2 separate regions of the Homo sapiens genome follow, and region 2 is linked to region 1. Evidence: promoter capture Hi-C in 16 types of primary human blood cells and fetal thymus (Javierre and others, 2016). All regions are on one chromosome and are shown on one strand. Each heading gives the region's core, a stretch centred on a gene start or on the middle of the fragment in contact. The rest is flanking DNA. Distances are from core to core; before and after follow the strand shown. Region 1 holds the start of BPIFC (BPI fold containing family C). Region 2 overlaps RTCB (RNA 2',3'-cyclic phosphate and 5'-OH ligase).

Region 1 (7,822 bases), core at 3,688-6,187:
AAAAATTAGCTGGGTGTGGTGGCGGGCGCTTGTAGTCCCAGCTACTCGGGACGCTGAGGCAGGAGAATGGCATGAATCCGGGAGGCGGAGCTTGCAGTGAGCCGAGATCATGCCACTGCACTCCAGCCTGGGCGACAGAGTGAGACTCCATTTCCAAAAATAAAAAATAAAAATTAAAAAAAAAACTAAAAAATTAGCTGAGGATGGTGGTACACACCTGTAATCCCAGCAACTTGGGAGGCTGAGATGGGAGAATTGCTTGAGCCTGGGAGGTGGAGGCTGCAGTGAGCTGTGATCATGCCACTGCACTCCAGCTTGGGCAACGGAGCAAGATCCTGTCTCAAAATAAAATAAAATAAAATAAAAAAAGAGGAAACTGTGAGAGCCATGTGTTTAGATAGAGGGAGGGGTCAGGCCAGGTGGTCAGGTAAGGATTCAGAGATGAGTAGGATTCAGAAGCAGCCTGGGTGAAGGAAAAGAGGTCACTGTAAGAGGTGGAGCCCTTGGCCGAAGTAGGTGAGAGGTTTGATTAAGGGGGGTGAGTAGGCTTTAAGGTGAGGCCATGGAGGTGGGAATGGGGCAATGTATATAAAGGGACTTCTAGAGAATTTGCTTGAAAAGAACAGAGCAGTCTGATTAGGGATGGAAGTGTCCAGGCAAGGCCACTGCTAGCCTATCTTGGGCTTTTGTGTGAAATGGGAAAAGGCGCCCCTCTGGAGAGATGCCAGCCTCTTGGCACAAAGTGGAGCCAGTGGAAAGCATTTTAGGAAAACCCCACACCAGTGTACGCAGCTGGGTGGGAGGTGGAAGGGCTATCCTATGTATCCATTGGGCTGGAATTTTGTCTAGTGCACAAACTCCCCAACTTACACAGGGGGCCTGTGCTCAGATTAGTGAATGCTTATGTGGGTATTTTGCTGGAGGCCAAAGGTTTAGAAATAAGGTCTTCACCTGTCTGTGGGTAAGTTCATCTTCAGGTCTGAGAAGGCTGGCTGGGTCAACCTGCTTACATCTCTCACCTGATCTCCTAGGAGCCCCCTCTATACCCCACCATCCAGCCAAACTGAACTACTGGTCCCTAAACACATGCCACGTTTTCTGCCTAATGCTATTGCCTATGTTTTTCCCCTCTGCCTATGCCTGCAGAAACCGTGCATATCCCTAAGGCCCATTTAAAGCACCATCTTCTTTCTAAAGCCATTTATGACTTCCCTGAGTTAATTTCATTTCCTTTTAACCCTTGATCAAAATACATATTTATTCATGCGTGTATGTTTCTTTTCTGGCTTATGATTTGCCTTCCCTACCAGAATATAAGTGCCTGAAGGCAGAGACTGCAACTGGTTTGGAGGTCCTAGGTCTGGCTCAGTGCCTGGGATAGAGTGAGTGACTGTTAAGTGTTGGTAGAATGAATCAATGGTAGAATGAATAAATGAAGGAATATCCCTTACCTTACTCTATCATGTATTACACTTCTTTACAGAGATGGTTAACAAAGTATTTGTGTACTAGTAAACTGCAGGCATCCATCGAAACAGATGTTGGCCACAGTCCTGGAGCAGGGGCCAGGAAGTTGAGTGCCAGATCATGGGGAGGACAGGGGATGTCTTACAGGAGGGGCCAGAGTAGTTGGGGGCACTGGGAATAGGAGGGGGACACTCAGAGTATTGGCTCCTTACCCTTAGCTATTAAGGCATTTTGGTATTTTACCACTGATATGGCCTTATGAATCCAGCATGATATTTCAGCCCTAAAGAGCTGGTTTGGGTTCTACAGGACAAGTTACAGAGGGAAACTGGGGAGCAGTGTTGGGAGCAGAGCTAAGAAAGGATGACTTGAGGGTGGTCAGGGTGCAGACAGCACTAAGGGAAGCACAGGGAAATGGGAGGGTTGAGAGCTGAGGGGAAGGGATTTGGGTAGGAGAGGAGGATCTCTGGCCAAGCAATGAGTGATCTGAAGGTTGGAGGAAATGTGGTGAGTGGGATAAGGGGGTGTAAAGCCCTCCATGTCCTGAGAGGCAGAGTGACAGTAACAGCATCTTAACACTCTGAATGGATGCATGTACCTCCTGCAGGAGCTAGATCCAGCTGATCTTCTGCTGTGCTGGGCCTTTCTTGATCCTTTAGTTGCCCTTGGAGGTTAGTCAAGGTGTCCTGGAAAGGGGGATAAGTAGAGATGAACTATGGGAGTGAGGAGAACACTTCTGGGACTCAGGTTAGTGGCTGCTGACCAACTGGTATAGGAGCATTTCCACATTTTAACATATGGCGAGGCCAAACTGAAAAGCAGTCTTGCTAATATCACTGCCGGCTAAAAATTGTAAATGGATGTGTTATGCCAAGACAGGCATTAGAGAGATTTTTGTTTTAAAAGAGCAAAAATAGGCCGGGCGTGGTGGCTCACGCCTATAATCCTGGCACCTTGGAAGGCCAAGGTGGGCGGATCATGAGGTCAAGAGATCAAGGCCATCCTGGCTAACATGGTGAAACTGTCTCTACTAAAAATACAAAAATTAACCAGGTGTGGTGGCGCACACCTGTAGTCCCAGCTATGTGGGAGGCTGAGGCAGGAGAATCACTTGAACCCAGGAGGCAGAGGTTGCAGTGAGCCAAGATTGTGCCACTGCACTCCAGTCTGGCGACAGAGCGAGACTCCATCTCAAAAAAAAAAAAAAAAAAAAAAGAAAAAAGAAAAAAAAGAAAAAAAAAAGAAAAATATTTTCATAGCAATGGAATGCAATGGGAAAGAATGTTAAGACCAAAATGTCTGTACCTATTAGACTGTGTGCAAATTAAGGCAGACATGATATCTCTCCCTGGCACATGGTAAGACCCAAATTAATATGTGCTAACTGATCAACTGACTGACTTAAAAGATTCCAGTCAACTAAGAAAGGTTCTACAAATGGTTAGAAAAAAAGGAAAAACCAAACTATCATATATAATATAGAGCTCTCCATTTCTATAGTGAAAAAAACATAATAAACCAGAGAAGAAATATTACTTGTGAATGGAATAACAACTAAAATAATAAATTTTTATTTCTTTACCCTTTACAAAACTCACAGTTCTTTGAAGTGGATGTTCTTATTATCTTACTCCCATTTTAGACACGTGGACATGGAGGCTTAGAGAATCTGATGACTCGTCCAAGATCCCACAGTAAGTAAGGCACCTGGGAACCCAACCTTGTTCTTCTGGTTCCTAATTCTAGTGTTGATGAATTTATTTTTATTGAATGACTCGATACATGCTAGGGTTTTCATTTTCATCTGGGAATTTTAAATAGGAGTTGCTTGACACCATTTTCCTTTTTGTTGTTGTTGTTTAAAAGTTACTCAATTTTTTTTATTACACTTTAAGTTCTAGGGTACATGTGCACAGAAAACCAAACACCATTTTCAAGGTGGAAAAATTCAATAAGCATCTAGAAACGTTCAAGCATCACAGTGCAAATCCCTTCTTATTTTCTTGGACACAACTGGAGTTTTAAATTCCCTGCCAGCAGTAAAACCTGTTTTCCCTTCTTGGTTAAAAAAAGTTTCTGAAGTGGTACACTTTGATGGAGATCCAGGAATCCAAAATTACAGGCAGGAAAACATATTTTTCCTCTAGAAATTTTATGAGTGAAAGAAATTACTGGGGTATGAAGGGGTGAATTGTACATAACTTTTCATTGAATTGTTCAGTTACGATGATAACTTATGGGCAGGGGAGGAAAGGAACCTTGTCAAGCAAGGTGATGACTACTAAAAGGTTAAGTAATTTGGCTGACAAGTGCAGGCAGGGCTAGTTGCCTGTTAAAAGGATCCAAGATCACTTAAAAACCCCACCAGCAAGTTATCTATTTTGTTGCTTCTGGGGAATTGCTTCTTTCCAAGATTCAAAATCTCAGTAGTCATTATTTTTCCATACAAATACACAGACAGAATAATACTCCTAAATTAAATGGTCCTTGTGTGAGTCATCCTGACAGCTAAGAAAATGCCAGTCCAATTTAGAAAACACCTGAAACTCACAGATGGTCCTACTACTACTGCTGCTTGGCAAGAGCTTTGACTGACTCTGGAAAAACCGATTAAGGGAGTAATGAATGAGTAAAATGTAGCCTTCAAAACAGAGGCGCAGGTTGAAAAATTAAGTTCAACAGGTTTAAAGAAGTCTAAACTAGAAGGGTATTCCGACATATTGGTTAAGACAAAATGACCGTACATAAGAAGTCTAAATCGACAGGTATGGAACGTGGGCAGAATATTTCAAGGGATCCACTCCTCACATCTAGTTTTATAGCAACATCTCTAATGACAAGGACCTTGAGAATTCATAGCATGTCTTTTCCCCAAAACTCTATGCCTAACACCAACAAGTTCAACAGTCCAGGCAAGTGGGTGGCTAGTTTTGCTCTGGCAGGATCTAGGTCACTGATGTGCTTTAAGACCTGCCTTGAAAGCACAGAGATTATAACAACTCCTTAGTCCTAACCATGCTGATTTTGAGAGACAAGATAGAATTTTCTGCCACTGTGCTGGGTTCCCCTCTGAAATGGAGGCAAAAATAAGTCCAGATCACTGAGCAACCCTCTTAACATTGTTCCATGATGCAAAACTAAGTAGGTGGTTTAAACCAACTCTTTTCTCTCTTATGGCTGTTTAGCTGTCACTAAAGCTTTTGCCTAAGAAGCCTCCAGGTGCGCATATGTGACATCACACAAACAAACAAACAAAGATACAGAAAAATCTAGGCAGACAATAATAATAACCCAGGATATATGACAGCTGCCTGTTCAAAGTGTCCTACCAAATCTGGGACATCTCCAGTTTGGAGATCATGGCTGGCAGAGACCTGAAGTTTGTTCATGAGTCTTACCTCAAGCAGAGGAAGTGTCCAAAGCTGGAGAGCACCTTCGATTCTCTCTGCCTTTGAAGCTGATGTGTTCTCCACCTTGCGCCTTAAACTCAGCTGCTAAAAAGCCAAGATAATTAAGTCTGACTCATCTCAGTGGTGAATTTTTTTAATGCCTCTTTCAAAATGTGATACATAATTGCTTCACTACAATTACCCAATGGCATGAATGAGCACTACAGTATCTACCTAGATAAACAGACAGTGCCACCTATGCAATAATTATCTTCCTGCAAAACACACACACACACACACACACACACACACACACACCACTTGTGAAATTGTGATGGCTACTTTACCAAAATGATTGAAAACGGTGTTAAACTGCATTGGAAGAGGAAGAATTTTCCTGTCTGGAATCATAAGCTGGTTCCTTCTGGTCAGGGTGCCTGCGGTGGATGGCTCTACTACTGCCCAGAATACCTTTGGGACTTGTGGTGGATCATCAGATTCAGTCTGAAAGCATGAGGCTTGACAATCGGGCTGACCTAGTTACCTTATCACTCAGGGTAGGACCTCAGTTGGCATCTCTCAGTGTCCGTCCGCTCCTTTTCAGAATGTTATTAATGACTTACTGTTCCAGCATTCCTTAAACCTAAGTTGGGTGGGTGGGTTCATCAACTATTATGCAACTTAACATTTTCAGATTCCAAACTCCAGCCCTACTCTCATCTCCAATAAATTCATTTTAGTTAATGTGTTTTATCTATTTTTATTTTTATTTATTTATTTTTTGAGATGGAGTCTCACTCTGTCACCCAGGCTGGAGTGCAGTGGAGCGATCTTGGCTCACTGCAACCTCCGCCCCCTGGGTTCAAACAATTCTCCTGCCTCAGCCTCCCTAGTAGCTGGGATTACAGGAGTGCGCTACCACGCCCAGCTAATTTTTTGTATTTTTAGTACAGACAGGGTTTCGCTGCATTGGCCAGGCTGGTCTCGAACTCCTGACCTCATGTGATTGATCCACCCGTGTTGGCTTCATAAGTGCTGGGATTACAGATGTGAGCCATCATACCCGGCCATTAATGTATTTTAGATGGCCAGGGATTTGATTGTATGAAGTTTTTTTTTTTGTTTTTTGGTTTTTTTTTTTTTGAGACAGTCTCACTGTCACCCAGGCTGGAGTGCAGTGGCATGATCTTGGCTCACTACAACCTCTGCCTCCAGGGTTTAAGCGATTCTTGTGCCTTAGCCCTCTGAGTAGCTGGAATTACAGGTGTGCACCACCAAACTTGGCTAATTTTTGTATTTTTAGTAGTGATGGGGTTTCACCATGTTGGCCAGGCTGGTCTTGAACTCTTGACCTCAAGTGATCCACCTGCCTTGGCCTCCCAAAGTCCTGGGATTACAGGCATGATCCACCGCACCCAGCCTGATTGCATGAAGTTCTTATGGCTTATCTACACTTTTCTGGGTAAGACCCGGTGACCAACTGTCCTGGTTTCCCAAGAATGCAGGATTTTCAGTACTAAAACCAGAACAGTCCTGGGAAAATCAGGATGATAAGTCAGTCTGAAAGGAACCACAGACGCTTTCACTTGGCATTGTCCATACTTCTCACAGCTTCTCAGGGGAGTTATACCTTGGGTTATACTTACTGATTTGAACTGAGTTTCCTTAAGGTAAAGTGGGGATAGAAATAGTAACTTCCTTGATTGGTTCTGGTGAAGAAAAACATAATAACACATGAGAATGCGCTATTAAAACTGTAAACTGCTGTGAAATTCTACTCATTAGCACGTGGCCGTATCAATAATGATACGGTGCAGAGACGCTCTTCATGGGATCATTTATTGTCGGTCATCATAGATGAATTCATTCATTCAATCAACAGATTTACTGAGCACCTACAATGTGCAAAGTCCTCTTCAGCAAAAAAGATGAAATTTTTGTCCACGAGGAGTTTATGTTCTAGTCGATGGAGACAAAATAAATAAGCAAACAATAAAATAAACAAAAATGTATAAATTGTGACATGTACTGTGACGGAACTAAGGGAATGTTGTTGGTAAGGTGGTCTTGTAATAGGTAGAGCAATGCAACTGGGGGAGGTGGGCTTATTTTATCAGGATACCCACGTGGGCGTCTCTGAGGAGGTGATTATTTGCGCTGAGATGTGACCGTTGGAAGCCAGGCAGGCAAAGTGCTGAAAGGAAAAGGTGGAGGGAACTGCAAAGGTGAGCCAGTTTGTCTGAAATGGAGTTGGGGCAGAAGTTATGGTATTCGAGATGTAAATGGTGATGTCAGGTGGGTAGAGTTCAGGGAAGAGGTCAACTGGAAATATGAATGTCTAAGTCATCATCCGAAAGGTGGAGTTAAAGCCACAGAAATGAATGAGATCATTGCAGGCAGCTTCCCACGTGCATGTGCTACTGAAAGTGTGGAAGATGAGTTCAGGCGCTATGCAGAGAAGCTCTTGAAATTGTACTGTGCATTAGAAAAAATACAGAGCTAGACATGGAAGACGAAGGACAACATGGAAGATGAAGGACAACATCAAAAGCACTATATGGAAAAAAAAAATCACAAAACACCTCTACATCTTTCTACCTTTTCCTCACTATTTTCCCCGGGTGGCAACATCAATTTCCTCCCCCGCCCCCTCTCTCCCTGTCCTTCTCCAGGGTCCGAGGTCTCCTCTTTCGTTTCTCTCCTCTCCAGAGCAGCTTCTTGGCTCCATCTTCTTCCCCTGCTCCCACCTTCACTGTCTGGCCCCTGCCCAGCCCATCCCCTGCTCATTCTCAATTCCTTTTCTCTGTTAGAAAGAAACCAACAATCGGCTGGGCGTGGTGGCTCACGCCTGTAATCCCAGCACTTTGGGAGGCCGAGGCGGGCAGATCACGAGGTCAAGAGATCAAGACCATCCTGGCTAACACAGTGAAACCCCGTCTCTACTAAAAACACAAAAAATTAGCCGG
Region 2 (7,822 bases), core at 5,167-7,666, 70 kb before region 1:
GGTGTCAGGCAGCCCTGCTGTCCAAGGTTCTATCCTTTGATCACAGCAATTGGTCTCAGTTTAATGGCTTTCTTGCTGATTCCAGCATCATGGCAGGTATTTACCACATCTGTCACATTCTTATAGGACTCAGGAGCCTGCAGGAGAGGAATTTAAACATTGTACAAGTCCACTGAAAACACAGTCTTTACAAGCACCAAACTTCACTTGTGATGAAATAAATGCACACTAAAATAATACAGAGAGTTTTTTTTTGCCTATGAAATTAGCAAAAATTTAAAAAAGAAGTAAGCCTGATGTTGGTCAGTGCTGATTTCCAAAACACTTTCACCTTTTTTTTTTTCTGTATTTTTCAAAATGTCTTTAAAGAACATGTATTACTTGTATAACTAGGAAATGTAGTAAATGTAAGTAAATAAAACACACACCAGAACCTGATTGGAAGAAACGGCACCCAACCATCATATGTTAGTGATAATTATCTCTTGATGGTAGAATTACTGGCAATTTTAATTTTCTTCCTTTATATATTTCTGCAGTTATCAAAATTTCTGGAATGAACATGTAGTACCTTCACAGTAAGTTATAAAATTCATATATGTATAAAACAAAGTAAAACTGTGTGCACATGTATATGTGGGTATCTATGTGTACCTACACTCACAGACAATTTCTGTGACTTTCCAGCAACATTCCCACCATTCCATCCTACCCACACAGCCTTGCCACCATTAGCACTAATCTCATCACACACTCACTTTATCTTCATTCCTGTCAATACAAGCTTAGGCCATCCATGCTGATTCCCGTACGGTTCTGTACATAATATCCTTTTCTATCCCATCTCCCATTCCCTTCCAGTTTCTGAAACTTTCCCACTGTGGCCTCTGGAACTCCTTCCAGAAGGAGCAAAATCCCCTCCCTCCCTTCTTCTTTGAATGTTCCCTTCACCTTCTTGTTTTACTGAAACACGGATCTTTCCCGAGGATACCACTTTCATCTCCAACTTTCTGAATGGTGACTGCTGTTTTCCCCAAATCAGGTCATGCCATTGGTCCCAGAAGTGGGACAGGTGTGCTCCTGGCTTTCATGGTTGTTTCTATTCTCCCGTTCTCCCTAGGCACTCCTAGTTTTGAATCTTGCAGTCATTACATCGTACCACAAACTACCTTTGGCTGTAGTTATCTGTGGGAGCCTGAATCACTCCCCAGTACTACTTGGCGATTTCTAGCTCCTGGCAATCAGATGAAATTCCACTGGGCCAATGACTGTCTCTCCCCTAGATGAATATTTCATACCTTTTCTCAGATCCCACTCTCACTTGCTGACCTTACTATGTAATACACTGAAAAAAATAGAAGCAGCCAGAATATTCATAAACATGCTAACTTTATCTTCCCCACATATCTGTATCTATACCTTCTCTCCTTTTATTTTTTTACTCTGTCACCCAAGGTTGAGTCCAGTGGCACAATCATAGCTCACTGAGACTACAGGCATGTGCCACTGTGCCTAATTTTTTTTATTTTTGTAGAGATGGGGTCTTGCTTTGTAGCTCAGGCTGGTCTCAAACTCCTGGCTTTAAGCGATACTCTCACCTCAGCCTCCCGAAAGTGCTGGGATTACAGGTGTGAGCCACTGTGCTCAGCTTCTTCTCTCCTTTTATAAAGGATGAATTATCTGTGCTCCTAGCAAAGACCAACCCCATCCACTTGTACATCAGACTCTATCTCCTCTCATCTATTCAAGGACACTTCTCCAGCAATTTCCTCCCTCTTTTCTGCATCATTAATTTCTCTTGTAGATTCTTCTCATCAACATGCAAACACATTTGTCAGATCACGTCACTATTCTGCTCAAAATCCTCCAAGGTTTTTTCATTTTAATCAGAGTAAAAGCAAAAGTCCAAATGCTCTGGCGCCCCCTACCTCTCTGACCTCATCTCCCTCTGGCTTGCTCTTGTCATGCCTGGCCTCCTTGCTGTTTCTTGAACACTCCTTCATAACCTCAGCTCACAGATTTTGCGCTTGCTGTTCTCTCTGCCTCGAAAGCTCACCTCCAGATGCCCAGGTAGCCTGTTTCCTCTCTCTCTTCAGGTCTTTGCTCTACTGTCACCTCACTGAAGTCTTCTCCGACCACCTGCTTAAAACTGTACCCCTTCCCACCTTTCCTTACCACCTTTCCCTGCTTTTTATTTCATAGAACTTGCATGGTCATTAACACACTGTATGTTTTATTATTTGGAAAGCTCCACAACGAAGGGACTCGTGTTTCTTTTGTTCACTGCAGTATCTCTAGCATATAGAACAGTACCTAACTATAGCGGATGGTTAGTACGTGTTAGCTGAGTAAGTGAATCAAATAATCACGTGTTGCAGGTGAAAAAACAAAACAAAACCAAAAAACCAAAAATCCAAATTTTAACTGTAATTATTTCTGGCTGATTGAATTCTAAATGTTTTCTGTTTTCTCCTTTGTATTTTCCAAATCCTTTTTTTTTTTTTGAGATGGAGTGTTGCTCTGTCGCCCAGGCTGGAGTGCAGTAGCGCGATCTCGGCTCACTGCAAGCTCCGCCTCCCGCGTTCACGCCGTTCTCCTGCCTCAGCCTCCCGAGTAGCTAGAGCTACAGGCGCCCGCCACCACGCCCGGCTAATTTTTTGTATTTTTAGTAGAGATGGGGTTTCACCGTGTTAGCCAGGATGGTCTTGATCTCCTCACCTTGTGATCCACCCGCCTCAGCCTCCCAAAATGCTGGGATTACAGGCCTGAGCCACTGCACCTGGCCAGTATATTCCAAATCTTTTAAATTAACCATGTATTCTTAAGATCAGGGGAAAAATGAATTGTTATTAAAAAAAATAAGTCTTTGTCATACTCTGACTCAGTAATTCCACTTTTTTTCCTTATTTTTTTTTAGAGATAGGGTCTTGCTTTGCACCAAGTCTGGACAATCACATAGCTTACTGTAACCTCAAGGTCCTGGGCTCAAGCAATCCTCCAGCTTCAGTCTCCTGAGTTGCTAGGACTACACCTGGCTAATCTTTGGCCAAACTAATCTTGAACTCCTGGCCTCAAGAGATCTTCCTGCATTGGCCTCCCAAAGTACTGGGATTATAGGCATGAGCCACCATGTAACTCCACTTTTGAGACTTTGTTCTAATTACTATAACAACTGGAAAAAACCTTCATGCATGAAGACACTCATTACAATTTAATTTATAGTAGCAAAAATTTGGAAGCTACTTAAATGTCCACTACAGGCAGAAAGTAAGGTACTCAGCTGGTGGAATATTCAGCAATGATTTTAAAAAGTGACACAAACAATTTTATAATAATGTGCAAAATTTTAAAAATAACTACAGAATGTTTCTTAACTATAATTAAGACTAGCTTTAAAAAAAGCATTTAGGAAAAAACTATGACAATAAGTAAATTTTTTTTTTTTTTTTTTGAGACGGAGTCTTACTTTGTCATCTAGGCTGGAGTGCAGTGGCATGATCTTGGCTCACTGCAACCTCTGCCTCCCGGATTCAAGTGATTTTCCTGTCTCGGCCTCCTGAGTAGCTGCGATTATGGGTGTCCACCACCATGCCCAGCTAATTTTTGTATTTTTAGTAGGGGTTTCACCATGTTGATCAGGCTGGTCTCAAACTCCTGACCTCATGTGATCTGCCCACCTCGGCCTCCCAAAATGCTGTGATTACAGGCGTGAGCCACCACGCCCGGCCGACAATAATAAGTATTCTAAAAGATAAGGTAATAACTGTGTCAGGGCATTGAGTTTTTGGATGACTGTTTTTCTTTTCTCTTAAATCATTAAGGAATTATATTGCTTTTAATTTAAATATGTACATATATGTAAACATATATACAGAATTTAAACAAAATCTGTTCTCCTGTGAATCAAATAAAACTTTCTCCAAACATTTATGCCTTCCTTTTTCAAATTTGCTTTCAAATTGAAACCTAAGTATACAATTGTGCAAAAACAAGAGTCAGCTCAAACTACTCTTGAAAAGCTTAATATGTAGATGGAGACTATAAATGAACAGTAAAAATCATTCTTAAGGACTTGGCTCGTAATTTTAACCAAAAGAAATGAAAACATAAAACTGAAATAAGCTAATCCAAGGAAGATAAGCCAAAATTGAGGTCATAAAAAAAAATAACCCAAACAATTTCTGTTAGTAACACCCTAAATTGCTGTCTCTGTAGACTGGAACAAATTACAAATGGGGAACAATAAATATTCATGTATTTATCAAAATTTCACTTACCTCTTCCATAACCAGTTTGGGTGAGGCAACACGGATCGCAATTCCCATATCTGCCAATTTGTCTAAGACATCCTGGAAATCTAAATTACGTCGAGATTTTGCTCGGGACAATGCACGGCCCTAGAATGGGAAAGGAATGAACTTTACTTTAAACCCTAAGATGATAAGCCCTTTCCCTGATTTTCTCTCACACTAAAAAGGAGCTTAAAAAAACATCTTTTTTACTTTATCGAATTGGTAACAGGCCTTTTAAACCTCATCATATCCTTTTAGATTTTGGACCGGAGAATTCTTTGTTGGGAGGCTGTCCTATGCAGGGTATTCAGCAGCGCAGCGCAGTGTATTCAGCAGCATCCCTCGCCTCTAAGACCCACTAAATGCCAATAGCAACTCCCACTAAACCATGACAATAAAAAAAGCCTCCAGAAATTGTCAATGTCCCCATGGCGGTAGGGGGATCTCCTTTGTTGAAAACTACTGGGTTAAAATTAGGAGTTGGGAGGCAGCTAGAAATGAGAAACAATCAGAAAAAAAAGTAGGATTAAATACATTTGTGAAGGTCTGTCCTAGGAGAAGGTACTCTAGACAGTTTCTCTTTCCCATTTCAACACTGGCTCAACACTCTGGATGGCTTAGAAAAGGGGCCGGCAAACTACGGTGTATGGGCCAAATATGGCCCACCACCTGCTTTTTAAAATAAACTATTTTGTTTTTTGAGAAAGGGTCTCCCTCTGTCACCCAGACTGGAGTGAAGTGACATAATCATAGCTCACTGCAGCCTTAATCTCCTGGGCTCAAGCAATCCTCCTGCCTTAGCCTCCTGAGTAGCTATGACTACAGGTGTGCCACCACACCCGGCTAATTTAAAAAGTTTTTGTGGAGACGGTGTCTTGCTAATGTTGCCCAGTCTAGTCTTGAATTCCCGGCTTCAAGTGCTCCTCCTGCCCTGGCCTCCCAAAGTGCTGTAATTACAAGTGTGAGCAACCATGCCTGGCCTAAAATAGTTCTATTAGAACACAGCATTGCCCATTTACACAGTACTTAAGGTTGCTTCTGCACTGAAATGGCATAGCTGAATAGCTGGTACACAGACCATCTGGTCCCAAAAGCCTAAAATATTTACGGTCTGGCCCTTTATGGGAAGAGTTTCCTGACCCCTGGGCTTAGAAGATGAGAGGCAGTGTTTTGAAATGGGTGTGTGTGTAGACTGTACATGGGCTCTAATTTGCAAATAGGGCCTATCCTTCCAATCTTGCGTGGACCTACACAATAGGAAGGGGCAAATTAAACAAAGGAGCAGGTCCAGTCAGTCGCTGAGATCAACTGTGATATTTGCATCAGTTAAAGTTCTATCACTTATAAACCAGACAGTAAGCTCAGCTAGTGTGACAATTTCCCAGTCTGGATTTTCTGGACTTGCAGAGATAAGAAACGGTCCCTAACCCTACCAGATCTCACTGAGGCAGAGATACTAGGTGACCCCAGTCAGTTCACTAAATAGTATACATTATGGGGAACAATTTGAAGTACAAGACATGATAGGCCCAAGTCTCAACTCTGTTAATGTTCAATCAGCTACATTTACCAGTCAAAATGGAAAACCATAGCTAAACTGAAGAGAGCATTTCTAAGGAAGTTTCTGTTTTCCTTACCGCTCCATGACAGGTTGTTCCAAAGGTCTCAGTCATGCCCTGTTCAGTGCCAGTAAGAACATAACTACAGGTTCCCATGGTGCCACCAATGAGCACTGGCTGTCCAGTGAGCTGAGGATGCACATAAATCAAACATGTTAAAATTCAGAAAAACATAGGCTTTTTATGCATAAAATTTAAATTTTCTCTTGCACTGTAGGATTGTAGGAGAAACCCAGACTTCTTTTTTTTTTTTTTGAGATGGGAGTCTTGCTCTGTCGCCCAGGCTGGAGTGCAGTGGCGGGATCTCGGCTCACTGCAAGCTCCGCCTCCTGGGTTCACGCCATTCTCTTGCCTCAGCCTCCCGAGTTGCTGGGACCACAGGCGCCTGCTGCCATGCCCAGCTAATTTTTTGTATTTTTAGTAGAGGCGGAGTTTCACCATGTTAGCCAGGATGGTCTCGATCTCCCGAACTCGTGATTTGCCCGCCTTGGCCTCCGAAAGTGCTGGGATTACAGGCGTAAGCCACCACACCCGGCCGGAGAAACCCAGACTTCTAAACGCGCGGCTAGTAAACTATATTAAGATAGTACTTTGATTCTTTGATAAATCGGAGGGGAAGGAAGAGGACGAGAGTGAAAATCTGAGGACCAGTAAAAATGCAGAAGAGTCAAAATAAGAGCAAAGCAAAATCCAAAAGTGTAGAGAAGTGTTGCTAGAACCACCATCCTGAGCAAGGTGCTTGTCTTCTCTGTTTTGGGTTTCTCATCTGTAAAAGGAGCAAGCAGACTATGGGGTCTTTCGAACTCCACCACAGCCAGACACCAAGAGGACAGGAGGAATGAAACAGACTGAGTTTACTCTGTCTTCTGTAACTGAGTTACTCCTGTCTTCCACTAATTCAAAGGCCTCAATTCACGGTAGTGGAGTAAAATACACTTCCTGCAGCACTTGCTATAGCACACGGCACCACCGCAAGCACAAATGATGGGGGAAGGAGTTACTGCTTCAGAGAAGATTGGGAATCACTGTTCTCATGAGTGACAGAGTATTTTCTTTTCACAATTGCTGCTTTTCGTTTTAAATGTAATTCACATTTGCAACAATCTAAATCGTGCCCCCACTGCTTAAAACTACAAACGTAGAGCTACGTACTTGGTAATCAACAGCAATGAGGGGATGGTGAGGAGGGAAAGCGCGGGTGGATCCCTTCCTGTGTACTAACAGTGTCCGTTCCTTTCCGTCCACCACATGCTGCTCCACTTTGGCAATGTTGTGAGAAACATCATAGATCACATGTAGGTCCAAGTCATCAGGGGTTGTGTTGAAGACCTTGGCGAAAGCCTAGGAGAAAACACAGAAGATAAAAGCAGCCAGAACTTCAGGACTTATGTTCAGCTCTTCGTGACTCATCTCACTGGTTTCAGGTAGTCTGTTCTGAAGGGAGTAAAAGATTTAAAAGTTCAAAAGTAGCCGTAAGATTATCTTCACGTAAAGGACAAAAGCTGTCCTTTAGACCACACAGGAAATGCCACCACATCATTTTCATCTTTAGTTGAAAAGCTGCTGGGCAACTTTTGATCCCACCTTTCAAAATTGCTTCTTCTCAGCCTTCTGAATCTTAGTCAGTGGCACTTTTATTCTCTATGCTGTTCAAGACAAATTCTAGGAATAATTTTGATTCTCTGCTCTCATTTCTCATGCCTGATACTCTGATGATTTAGTTTAAGACAACACCAAAACCTTGGACACTTCTCTGGTATTTTGAAAGTTAACTATGTGAATTTCCAAAACCAAACACCATAGGCTTTGACTGGACTGCACGATGTTTTTTTCTTTTGGAGACAGGAGTCTCACTCTGTCACCCAGGCTGGAGTGCAGTGGCACGATCTCGGCTCACTGCAAGCTCCACTT

Evidence for each region. Contacts are between HindIII fragments. The CHiCAGO score rates a contact against its expected background, and 5 or more counts as called.
Region 2: a fragment that was not itself captured here is called in contact with the fragment with the promoter of BPIFC in region 1 in 3 of 17 cell types (M1 macrophages, M2 macrophages and total CD8 T cells); the score reaches 6.5 in M1 macrophages.

Annotation. Positions count from the first base shown.
Region 1 is chr22:32,459,509-32,467,330 of GRCh38, forward strand. BPIFC (BPI fold containing family C) reads right to left here and starts at 4,938. Exons shown (of 17, transcript NM_174932.3): 1 at 4,866-4,938; 2 at 2,066-2,153. The HindIII fragment of the contact is 5,490 bases long and covers 4,663-7,822 here.
Region 2 is chr22:32,387,963-32,395,784 of GRCh38, forward strand. It overlaps RTCB (RNA 2',3'-cyclic phosphate and 5'-OH ligase), which reads right to left. Exons shown (of 12, transcript NM_014306.5): 9 at 7,064-7,252; 10 at 5,930-6,040; 11 at 4,278-4,397; 12 at 1-137. The coding sequence ends at 30. Among named protein-coding and RNA genes, the nearest start is that of RTCB, 20 kb to the right of the region's middle. RefSeq lists a silencer at 6,701-6,898. The HindIII fragment of the contact is 4,798 bases long and covers 4,018-7,822 here.